Regions from separate parts of the Homo sapiens genome. Here all the other regions are linked to region 1. The links are contacts of gene promoters, found by promoter capture Hi-C in human tissues and cell types (Jung and others, 2019). All regions are on one chromosome and are shown on one strand. Each heading gives the region's core, a stretch centred on a gene start or on the middle of the fragment in contact. The rest is flanking DNA. Distances are from core to core; before and after follow the strand shown.

Region 1 (2,874 bases), core at 226-2,725:
GCTGGTGCTGCTTGTATGAGTCGTAATGACCCTGCTGGGCCAAGTTGCCGATCTTGTTGCGCAGAATGCGGCTGATGGAGCTCACGGAGGGCACATTGTACTTGTCGCACACGCCGTCCGCCAGCAGGCGGTCCCGGATCTCCCAGGCGAAGATGCCGGGGTCTCTCTGCTTGTAGGTCCGGATGTGTTTCACCACGGTGGGGGTAGTGACCCGGGGCTTGCTGCCCCCGATGGCTCCTGGCAAGATCGAGCCCGTCTCGTTGTATCGCGCCAGGATCTTGCTGACGCAGCCGTGCGAGACCCGTAGCTGGCGGCTGATGTCACACGGTCGGATGCCCAGTTGGGCCAGTTCCACGATGCGAAGCCGGATGGCGTTGGGCAGCGGCCTCCCGTTCACGAACACTCCTCCCAGCTGGTTCACCTCCCCGAAGGCTGGCTCTGCAAAATGAACACACAGCGCGCAGGGACGCGCACCCGCTGCTTGGGACAGCTGCCTGCCACTGGGCCTCCCTACGCATCCGGGGACTGGGCGAACGCACCCGTCCCCTACTAACTACTGGGGCTGTCCCCAAACCATATGGTCCCTGAACATAGCCGAACGGCCCCAAACCGTCACTGTCCAATCGGACCCCCTCCCTCATTCCTGCCGTGCCGGAGGCCCCTACGGCCAAGTAAAGTGGTGAGATGCCGGGCCTCTCCGAGCGTTCAAAAGTCTCCCGAAGCAGGGGGAGAAATCGGTCTTGACGCCTGAACGTGCTCCTTCTCGCCTGCTCCTCACTAAAGTCCTTGAGCCGCTCCCTCTCTCCACCCATCCCATCCCCAGCGTTCCTTCTGGAGACCCGGCCAGTTAAACAAAGTCTAGGGGAAGCTAGAGGGTGTTTTATTTGTTGTTGTTTGTTTTCTTTTCTTTTCTTTTCCTGTTTTGTTTGCATGTGTGCGCGCGTGTGAAACAAAACTTGGTTTGCTACTCGGGCTGAGGGGCTCGCTGATGCCACAGCTCCCTTCTCTTAAAATCAGAAAATGGCATCAACAGCCACCCAGTAGCCAGCGTTCACATTGAACTGCTGTGCGCCGCTGACCCTTAGCGTGTTCCTACAACTTGTAGGAACACGAGCAAAGTCAATAGAGAATGTGAGCGCCTAGTGGCGCGCGCCCTCGCGCTCCCTCCCTCCCTCCCTCCCTTGCCCGCTCGCTCCCTCCCTCCCTTCCCGGCTCTGACAGAGTCCCCCGCCGCCACTCACCCATTGCTCCGAGCAGTACACCAACCCGGCCCCAGTTCCGCACTCCCAGACAGAAACTTTCCGCACCGCCTCAGTGGCCCGGCCTGTTGCTATCCCGGCCGACCGCCGGCGCCTCCGCTTCTTCCCAGGAGGAGGAGGCGAGAGGGCAAAAGGAAGAAGTAAAAGGAAGTCTGTGCCCCGATGAAAGAGGCTTGAGTTCTGCATTTCAATCTAAGCAGCAACGTGGGCTGGGCTGAGCAGGGCAGGGCGGCTCCGTCTATCACTCACTGGGGACACGCCCTAAAAGGGGCGGGTCCGAGGGCAAGCTGCATGGTGATTGGTGCGGGTCGGTGAGCGACAGCGCAGTCCAGGAAACTCCTTCCGCTGTCTCTTTCAGGCTAGCTCCCCACCTGGGTGACTAAATACAATGAAAATGGGTGTTTGACATCTTCCCAGAAGCGGCACAAAAAGACAGCAAAATCAGGCTGGTAAAATGCTGAATAAACAAATGAAAGCGTTTGGTCTGAATGTGAATGACTCGAAGGGAGAAGGGGCCCGAGGAGACCTCCTCCGGGGAACGATGGACATCTCAGAATTGAAGTTAAGGCTATAGGTGGGAGGCGGGCGCCACCGTGCACAGGGGTGAGGGAGTTGTCTTAGCAAAATCTGTCATGCGGGCCTCTGGGGACTGTCAGGAGAGGATCTGTGTCACCTGCCGATTCTACCTCACTTCAGTCCATGCCAGGTGGCGAGAGCGCAGGTGTGAGAAGATAGGCCGGCCAAAGAAACCAGGAGGTTGCGGGGAGCCCGAGCCACAGGTGGGGGCCACTGTTAAGGCCAGGGAGGTTCCTCCTACCGCCAGCTTCCTGCGGCGACCCCCCAGTCCAGGTGGACCGGCCAACCACTAGCCACACAGGCTCGAGGCACGGGCCACGCCGTGTGCGGGGAACTGAACCACAGGCGGCTAACGCTAGCGCACAGCCCCAAGTCGACCAATTGCCAGTGCGTGGGGCACTCACTACGGAGCCCAAGGCTCTGCCACATTCAGCCACTGTCCTGGGCCCCTGGCCCTCGGTGGCAGCGTTTGTGAGGGTTCTCCAAACCAGCGAGCCCTCTCGAAAGAGTTTTGTTTAAATATGAAAGAGACTTAGTCCCAAGACAGTGGACACCGACGCTGCACATGGATGTAATTCCCTCGTCTTCCATTAAGCTCCAGAGGCCCTGTCGTTCTGCCTACTTCTGAATTTTCACTTTTATTCACTGTAAGTCTAATCTAAAGTGTACCGTATGCTTTTTTGCAGCCAAAGTTATTAATATTTGCAGTTAGGGTTGTGGAGAATGTGAATCAAAATAATAAACAAGAAGAGAAATATTTTCGTGAATTTGGGAGTTTGTACTGCTTGGGGTCGTGAACTCTGTTACTGCTACTTGACAATCCAGAAGGCTCCTTGTGCACACAGGATTCAGGCTGCTTCCCCAACAGTCCCCAGGGATGTGTGTGGCTGCGGTCTACACCCAGAGAAGCTGACTGGTCCCAGATCTCAGGTCAGTAAGTTGCAAGAACCCAGGAAAAAACTATGATCAGCCATGCTTCTGCAAAGGAACAGATCTCCAGATTCCCACTTCTATGGTTAGGATGCACTCTAAATTCAAA
Region 2 (2,874 bases), core at 230-2,729, 220 kb before region 1:
TTAGCATATGTGGAAGAAAACCCAAATCGCAGTAGTTTAAGGAAAATAGAAATTTTTCTCCAACATGAGTGTCTGGAGGTAGATAACCCAGAACTCCACTATGTCTGTCTTGTTGCTGTGCTGTGTGTGGCCTCTATGCCCAAAGTTACCTTGTTGTCTAACATGGCAGCCTGTGTCCATATTCCACTAGTAAGATGGGAGAAAGAGAAGACCAGGCTCCTTCTCTTTAAAAAACTTCCCAGATGTTGCTCAAACCACTTTCCCTTACATCCCTTTGGCCAGAACTTAGTCACATTGTGATGCTGAGCAGCAAAAGAAGCTGGGAAATGCAATATTTTTTCTGAGTGGCCAGGAAGAAGAGGGGATGCCTACTAAGAGAAAAATTAACCATCTTTGCCCCAGGATTTCTGGGAAAATGGTTGCCTAAATTGAGATCTGAAGGTTAGTAGGATTCTCAGAAGTATATGTACATGTGTCCTTACGGAAGAAAAACATTCCTGAGTAAAGAAAAAGTTCTAGGAATTGAACACTGAGAAGAAACTGGTCTCTCACCAATCATGATTAATCATTGTGTGACAATGTTTGTACTTTTTTTTTTTTGGAAAAGAGTGTGGTGCAGGTTATTTCAGAGGAAGGTGGGGGTGGTGTTAATGATCAGTCAAGTTTTGTGGTTGAACAGGCTGCCCAGGGGATCTTCTCAGAAAAGATGAAGTCTGGGAGAAGGGTTTATGACATGGTGGTGTTAATTTTTTCCCAATATTGGCTCAGGCGAAGGCATGTACTTGAGGCAGTTCAAGGGCCAGGGCATCCAGGGGCTATCCCAAGGTAAAAGTTCAGGGGATAACCCATGCATTTTTGTGCCTGTGGTAGGGTCAAATTACCAGTTTCATTCAAATCTTAGAGATATAGTCATGCTCACTAACATGACATGAATCTGCAGAAACAATGAAAACATTTACAATATATTAAATTTACAGTATCAGTCTGCTTTGGGGCTTTTCTAATTTTTATAATGTTCAGCCTTATAAAATCAGTATTTTGTCTAGTTTAAACAAATCTAATAGTAATTCTTGTTTACTTGTTATTGTGATAAATCAGCAGTTGCCTGAAATAAAAATAACATATGGAACATTTTTAGCTTTCTGAAATGTAGTATGTTATTTGAGAAAATATGTGTTTTATGTTTTTCTAATTATTTTCATACTGTCATGTGGTTATGTTTTGATTCTGCTTTTTATTCCCAAAATGAATGGAAGTTACAAATAGTCCAGCCCATTTAAAATTAAGCATGACTTGAAGACATTTTATCTCTAAAATGACTTTTTTCTGGTTTTAAGATCAAACACCAAATTTAAATGTAAAATCAGCTAGAGAGTCTAAGAAAAGCACTGATCTAAATTTATATTTAAGTTCTTATGTATTTTTTTCATATTCCTTCTCAAATACTATGAAGTTGTAACTTTTTTCCCCAGAGAAGGTGTTACTATGGTTGGTGGTTGGCAGTACAATTTTTATATCATGAATGAGTAGGGGAGATTGAATCATTTAATTCCTCTGTGGCTGGTGAGTGTAATAAATGCCAGGTTGGTAAAAGCAATACTTCTAGGTCTTATTTGTCTTGATATCAGAGTGTCTTAAAATCGCAATTAGGATGGATTATTAAATGGAAGCTGATATTTCAGAGTCATCTTCTTTTCTATGTTAGATTTTTAATTTTATGAGAATAGAGAAATTATTAAAATTTGTGCTCACTAGCTCATTATTTAGTTTGTGCCTTCATAGTAGGTCATAGAATTGTCAATAAGCACATGGTACCACTCAGTTTCTTGAGGTCACTTCTAGGCCTATGTAACACGATTAATCTGATTCTATTTATATGGTTATCTTCATAAATAATAATCAGGGTCTCACAGTCTTTAGCTGTCTGTGGAGGACAGCAAGCATCCATTCCCACTCTGAGTGAATCCAGATTTAACTCTGAACTCTGATTAAAGTCACAGCTTCCATATAATTTCCAACATTTCTGTTCTCTCTGCCTGTAATGCATTTTATCACTAACTTAAATTCTACAAATTACTTGTTTTGACTAAAAATAACAGTGAATAAATAATCACATAGAGATCCTGGACCAAATATGTTATATTTGACCATTTAGGTCCCATTTTCCTTTTGGCCATGTCACAGTTTTGCAGGTAGTTTCATAGATGGCCATTGACTCTCAAATCTAGAGGTGCATGGGACACCAAGACATCTATGCTATGATGAGAGAAGGTGTTTTTACTGGTAAACTGTTTACCAATGGAGAGAGGGCTGGGACATCAGTGCTGTTGTACTTGCAAGTGAATAACTGTGATTGGGAGCACTGCGGGGATTAAATGGAGAAGATGATTAGATTATTGGGAGAGCACATTAGCAGAGGTCAATACCACTCCTCTGCTTACAACTCCTCGAAATGTCTTCAATAAACATGGAGTACATTGGTAATAAGAAAAAACAACCAAGAGCTATTAAAAAAAGAAAATCCTTCACTGGCTCCTCGTGGCCTATGGGATAAAGTGGAAGTGACTAAACATGAACTTGAGCCTCACCTGCACACTTCCAGCCTCATCTCTTGCCATACCCTGCCTTCAACCCTAGGCTGCTGTAATGCTCAAGTGCTTCTTGCCTCTTTTCTTCTTTTTTCTGTGCAATATCTTTCCTCCATGCCTCATGCTCATGCTGTCCTCTGTCTGCCTTGAATCCCTTCCCTACCCCTCACCTGCTCCCATGCTAGGTCAGGGGCCTCTCTCTGAGGTGCTCCCATAAACTCTGAGCATTGCACCTCCTCCCATGCATTACTATTTGTTCTTATATGTCTGTTTGTTCCCCTCACTA
Region 3 (2,874 bases), core at 214-2,713, 160 kb before region 1:
ATCCTAGACAAAAACAAACCTTCTTATCTCCTTTTTGATAGCTGAAATCCCTATAAGAGAGGACACATTTTGACGGATGGCACATTAAAGTAAAAGTCACAATAAGGATGAATGATGGATGTGAATGTGTTTCCAAAAGCAGAGCTGAATGGGAGAAGGCAGAAGAGAGCACAGGAACACTACTGAACTAAGAAGTGATCCAGGGGTGATGCCAGAAATGCTCTTTACCTATCTCACTGGTTTGCTTAGGGATTGGTGGCAGTGCCAAAGGGGTGGCTTGGAATGGCTTCCCACTGCCAGTCTCCATCAGTTCCCTCTCCCAAAGCACCCCAAATAATCATATGATCTAACTAAAAAGCAGAGTCGTGTGCTATGCAAATGTAGCCTCAGGACAAATCCTATCATCTACCCCAATCCAACCCTTTGCAATTCAATTACTGCATATTCATATAAAGATAGGAATATATAAGTTATATTAGGTTGGTGCAAAAGTAAGTGCGGTTTTGGCCATTAAAAGATTGGGTGTTAGGCACCATTAAAAGTAATGGCCAAAACCACGATTACTTTTGCACCAAATGTATAATATGTAAGTTATATATGTATATATACTATATATGCATATATAGTGTATAGTGTACAAATATATTTCTAAAGCCTCCACTCCCCAGAATAGACTCGTTCAGTATTTGTTAAGAAGATGATAGATGTAAAATTACTTTGGAAATAAAGGCACTGCATAAATTTGAGATTTTATAATTTTCAAACACCCTTGTCTTGAGACTTTTAAGGCAGCAAAGCCATTTTATTTCTTACAGGCATATCTTTCTTTTGGCCATATCTTCAGAAGTACTCAAACAAGTGGAAGTGGTATATCTATGCTGAGACTGAGTCACAGACTAGTTTAAAATAGAATATCACTGAGCACACAATGAAGACAGTGCGAAATGCTGCAGTCATGATTCTCAGCTAATTTAGAAAAAAAAAATGCTTCAATTAGTGCAAACATTTTTTGTCTTTAAAAAATATGCTTGTACATTTGTTTGGGAACATTGAAAAGCCCTTCCTTACCCTGTTGGCTACCACAGTAACTCACTCAGTATTGTGGCTGGTGAATGACAGGGCCTGTTTCCTCCCATTTGTTAAGTGTGTGCAGTCCTTTGGCTATGAGAACAGCGGCAGATAGGTATCTGGCTCCTTTGCAATGCAGCCTAGGGTTTGAGCCACATTCCTTTCTGTTGTGTGTGATTCTGATCGGATGTTAAGCACCAAATATGTCCCAAGTGTTACTTCATTGTCCACTCTGTCAGTGTGGCAGCAAGTTTCCATCCTAATAAAAGAAGTTACTCAGATGGATATTCCAGATGTATTTAAGCTGCTTTTATTAGGACAATGGAGAAGTCCAACCCTGTCTTCTAAATGCAATCAAGAGTGGTGTGGCTTTGCCTTTGTAATTTTACAAGGGGTTGTATTATGTAACTGGAAAATTGTCTCCCTAAGTAGAGAGAATTTGTTAGCAGAAAATGCAGCTTGGAACATGCTGATGTAAAGCTTCAATCCAAGAGAGAAACCTTTTAAGTTGCTGAAATGTAGAGCAGAGGAAGAAGGAAATTGCTGTTTTACATGATTGACCAAAATGCACTATAATTATATCAACTTGAAACAGATTCCTGAGAAGAACTGATAACTCTGTGATCAGAATAAGTCATGTGTAATGGAACAAAATACTGCAACCAAATACTGCAAGTACTTTCTCTGCAAAGCGTAGACATGATGTATGTGAGATACACAGTAGAAGAGACAACTGTTCTTGCCTTAGCCTGTGTAATGGGGCCTCTCACTGCTTTAGCATAGTTAAGAATGGAAGGGAGGCTTTACTGGGGCATTAGCAGTTACCATGCCTGCCCATCCTTTTGCATTGCTCATGCAACACAGTTTATGGACTCTGCTCCTGTGATGTTATTTTGATGTTGCCGCTCCTGGTTGTAATTAACTCAGCATCACTCATCAGACAGTCAGCTCCTAAGTGAAGCACTCCTCAAGGATTTCATGGACTGCCCTTTCTTGTTGCCTGTTCTAAAATCTGTGGGTAAAGTTTAATTGCAGATATGTAGCTCCAAGATAGTCTTTCTTTATTTCCCCTCTCCCTTTCCCTTCCATTGTCTCTGCAAAGTACTATTTCCCACCCATAAATAGCCGATCATCCCCAATAAGAGTGGTGCTAGCATCTGATACTCTGAAACACTATTTCTAAACAATAGTTTTTGTGTATGGTAATCATCTATTTGCACATCTCTTTCACTTTACTGAAAGCTTCTACAAGGCAGGGCTTTTTCTTATTTCTTTGTAAGCCCCCAAATAGTAGAGTGTATAATAAATAGTTGTATTCAAGAACTCTTATTAACTGAATGAACAATAGATTGGAAATATTATCTATTTGGTTCTACAAAGAGAAAAAGAAATTGCAACTAGTGAGTGAAGTGCCTAGACTTGTGAAATCATCATACTCTGTATACACGTTTGCACAAGCTGTCAGAAAACCCACCTGGGAATTACCTGAGCATGCAGACATCATAGGCAAAGCTGAGGTCTCTGACCACAGAAGGGAAGGAAAGGCTAAGGCTGAATATCTAGACATAGGACGTGCTTGCCTGGCCCATCTGCTGACTTGTTCACAGGCCCATCTGGAACCAGGGCCATGCAATTGTGCAATGGCCATCCTGAGGTAGCCGAAGTGCTGAGCTGAGCAGCAGAAAAGGTCAAGTGCTTTATACTGGGCTTTGACTTCAGCTCCTGTATACCTTCTACCAAACCACTTCAGGTCTCCATGCACCCTGAGCAACCAAGTGCCTGCAGCAAGCAGAGTACTGTAACATT
Region 4 (2,874 bases), core at 139-2,638, 130 kb after region 1:
AAGGAAGTTGAAAAACAACAGGAGTTCAAGACCAGCCTTGGCAACATGGTGAGATTCCATCTATAAAAAAAAAAAAAATTAAATAAGAATCAAATGTCAAGGCAGTAAACTGAGTACAATGGTAGGAGTGTGGTATTCACGTCCAAAGTGACCTTGGAGGTTTCTGGAACAGAGACTTTCCAGGCCAACCATTAAGTTTAGCTTGTGATGCTTATGATTAGATTCACTAATTTGGCATTGCCAGCTCACTTGATGGAGTTATATCCTCTTTATCTAATTTCTTAAGGTCTATCTCAGTTTACGAGTCTCTTAAAATAATTAATCTTCCAAGATCTGATAATTAAACACTGTGTGGAATAAACTGGATCATTTTGAAATAACTGTCAACTCAACATTGCTGCAGTTTCAAAGTCCAACCACAGGTCTTTTTCCCATTAAATCATGTGATGCTGACCAGAATATCAAGATAAAGTACAACCTATACTGTGCTTCTAGGGCTTGGGCTTTAACTTTCACATAAAGGCTCATTAATGATGACCAGGAAGGACCCATGAGCCCAGCTTTAAAATGTATGAGAGTTGTTCCTTTCTGTTGCATGCATCAGGTTGATAAAGTCCACCAGTTTAAGCAGGACCCAGCTTAATACCTACTGAACTTTGCTTAACTTCTGTTGGAGGTTCTCCAGCCTCAACAAAATGGAAGACGTTGACTGAACAGGCATCAAATTGATAAGTCTTTTAATAGAACTTTCACTGAGTTCTGTGACCAAGCATGGCAGATTCTGCAGCAAACACTTAATAGTATCATGGTAACTAGGAATCAAATACCATAGCAACCAACCTGTGAGATACAATCATATATGAAGAGAATATAATTGGAGGAGTGTCTGGCTTCTATGAATTTCTTTCTCTTGTTTAAGATATGTTGGGAAATATTAACTAGCTAGTAATATATAGATACAGACAGATCGCTGTGGAGTTACTAATGGTTATATCCGTTATACTGAAAACAAAATTCTTAGTTGGACTTTCAAGACAAAAAGTAGATCTAGACAAACTGATGAAAGAAGCATTTCATGAATTTCAAAAATATGAGATTCAACTAAAGGAAGCTGAAAAACAAGGTGAGATGACTTACTTTAACAACAGTGTCCCCACTCCCCCAGAAAAAAGAGAAATCTATACAGCATATTTAACAAAGGTGTTGATTAATTTTCTGCTGGAAGGAGAAGCCAAGCCAAGCAATAATGATTTCTGTTTGGTTAGCTAGTGAAGCAAGTAGAAGAATCTCTTTTGAGGTATATTGTCTAGAAGTGTGTTAAGTTTTATTCTTGAAGCTTAACCAAGGCAGCCATAAATGATAGGACTGATCGTGCTTTTGAGGTATTTGCCACAACATTGGTGGAGTGATTGAATTTCTTCCACGCTATAACCAATCCAATGTTAAGAAATGCCTTTATTCAGAGGTAAAAATTTTGATGGCCATGCGAACAACAATAATAATATTCACTGAAAGATACAAATAATTTATAAATGTAAAATTCATCTCTGCATGTTTTTTTTCTTTTTTTGGGACAGAGTTTCACTCTTGTCATTCAGGCTAGAGTGCAATGGCGCCATCTCTGCTCACTGCAACCTCCGCCTCCTGAGTTCAAGCGATTCTCCTGCCTCAGCCTCCCGAGTAGCTGGGATTACAGACATGCACCATCATGCCCGGCTAATTTTTGTATTTTTAGTAGAGACAGGGTTTCGCCATGTTGGCCAGGCTGGTCTGGAACGCCTGACCTCAGGTGATCCGCCCGCCTCAGCCTCCCAAAGTGTTGGGATTACAGGAGTGAGCCACCGCGCCCGACCGATCTCTGCGTGTTTAATGATCTAATAGGGCATAAAATAAATTTGCTTTATGTTTCTGATCATTTGATATTGTCCCACAGATCACTGGGGCTGTTTTTGTTTTTAATTTTTATTCCTTCTGCTTCTCAGACTGGATAAATTCTATATTCAAGTTGGCTCTTCTGCTGTCGCCAATCTTCTTTCAGCTCATCCCAGAGATTTTTCTTTTCCATTTCAGACGCTATAGCTCTTTAGAGAATTTTCAATTCATTTTTAAAATAGCTTCCATTTCTCTGATAGAGTTCCCCAATTTGTTCAGTTATTGACATATTTTAATTTGTCTTCGAATATATATATATATATACCTCTTTAAATGTACTTTTCTGCTAATTCCAAACCTGGAGATTTGCTTCTATTGACTGCATTCTCTTCTGATTTTGGAAATTATCTTCTATGTCTTCACATGCCTAGTAATTTTTTATTTTAATCTGCCATTGTGAAAAATACATTTTAGAGTCTCTAGATTCCTCTGTTCTAGGAGTTCCCTACCTTAATCTTTCAGATATTCTTTCAGCCCCTGACTCCATCCTCTCACACTTCAAATAAAAAACACTGGATTTTTTCGCTCACCTTCTATTTGCCCTGTGCTCTGTGGTATGAGTATTGTCCTCAGTAGAATATCCTTGTAAGTTTAATTCTTACCCAGTGAGTAGTTCCATTTATGACTAGAAACTTCTTCAGTTTCTTTCTTCTTTTGACCACTTTCTGGTGCCTTCAAATAATTGTGTGTGTGTTTGTGTGTGTGTGTGTGTGTATTGTCCAGAGTTTATCATTATTATCTGAAAAAGGCATAGTCAGATAATGTACTTTTTATTACTGGACTCAGAACACCCATTCAAGAATATACACTTAAAACAAGCTTTTTGGGTTATACTTATGCACTCCAAAGTTTGACAGGTGCTGTCTTAGATTAAACTTCCATGCTTAACTTTGTCTTTTGAGAAGTCATCTTCCTCACTACGAACAAGAATTTAAACTCTTC

What was found. The method cuts DNA at HindIII sites, captures the fragments that hold promoters and counts their contacts. A contact is called where the count stands out against the background at its distance.
Region 2: a fragment that was not itself captured here is called in contact with the fragment with the promoter of PAX9 in region 1 in 1 of the 25 tissues and cell types used here (small bowel).
Region 3: a fragment that was not itself captured here is called in contact with the fragment with the promoter of PAX9 in region 1 in 3 of the 25 tissues and cell types used here (H1 embryonic stem cells, pancreas and thymus).
Region 4: a fragment that was not itself captured here is called in contact with the fragment with the promoter of PAX9 in region 1 in 1 of the 25 tissues and cell types used here (pancreas).

The regions. Positions count from the first base shown.
Region 1 is chr14:36,660,461-36,663,334 of GRCh38, reverse strand. It overlaps PAX9 (paired box 9), which reads right to left and starts at 1,475. Exons shown (of 4, transcript NM_001372076.1): 1 at 1,242-1,475; 2 at 1-438. The coding sequence starts at 1,245. RefSeq lists enhancers at 1-495, 496-1,007, a cis regulatory region at 1,772-2,284 and a promoter at 1,544-2,741. The HindIII fragment of the contact is 9,466 bases long and covers 1,391-2,874 here.
Region 2 is chr14:36,877,545-36,880,418 of GRCh38, reverse strand. The region is part of intron 1 of SLC25A21 (solute carrier family 25 member 21); the gene reads left to right. Among named protein-coding and RNA genes, the nearest start is that of MIR4503, 73 kb to the left of the region's middle. The HindIII fragment of the contact is 6,338 bases long and covers 1-2,874 here.
Region 3 is chr14:36,817,498-36,820,371 of GRCh38, reverse strand. The region is part of intron 2 of SLC25A21 (solute carrier family 25 member 21); the gene reads left to right. Among named protein-coding and RNA genes, the nearest start is that of MIR4503, 130 kb to the left of the region's middle. The HindIII fragment of the contact is 4,329 bases long and covers 1-2,874 here.
Region 4 is chr14:36,531,900-36,534,773 of GRCh38, reverse strand. All of the region lies in intron 1 of LOC105370453 (a long non-coding RNA gene), which reads right to left. It also overlaps the pseudogene PHKBP2. Among named protein-coding and RNA genes, the nearest start is that of NKX2-1, 13 kb to the right of the region's middle. The HindIII fragment of the contact is 3,563 bases long and covers 1-2,874 here.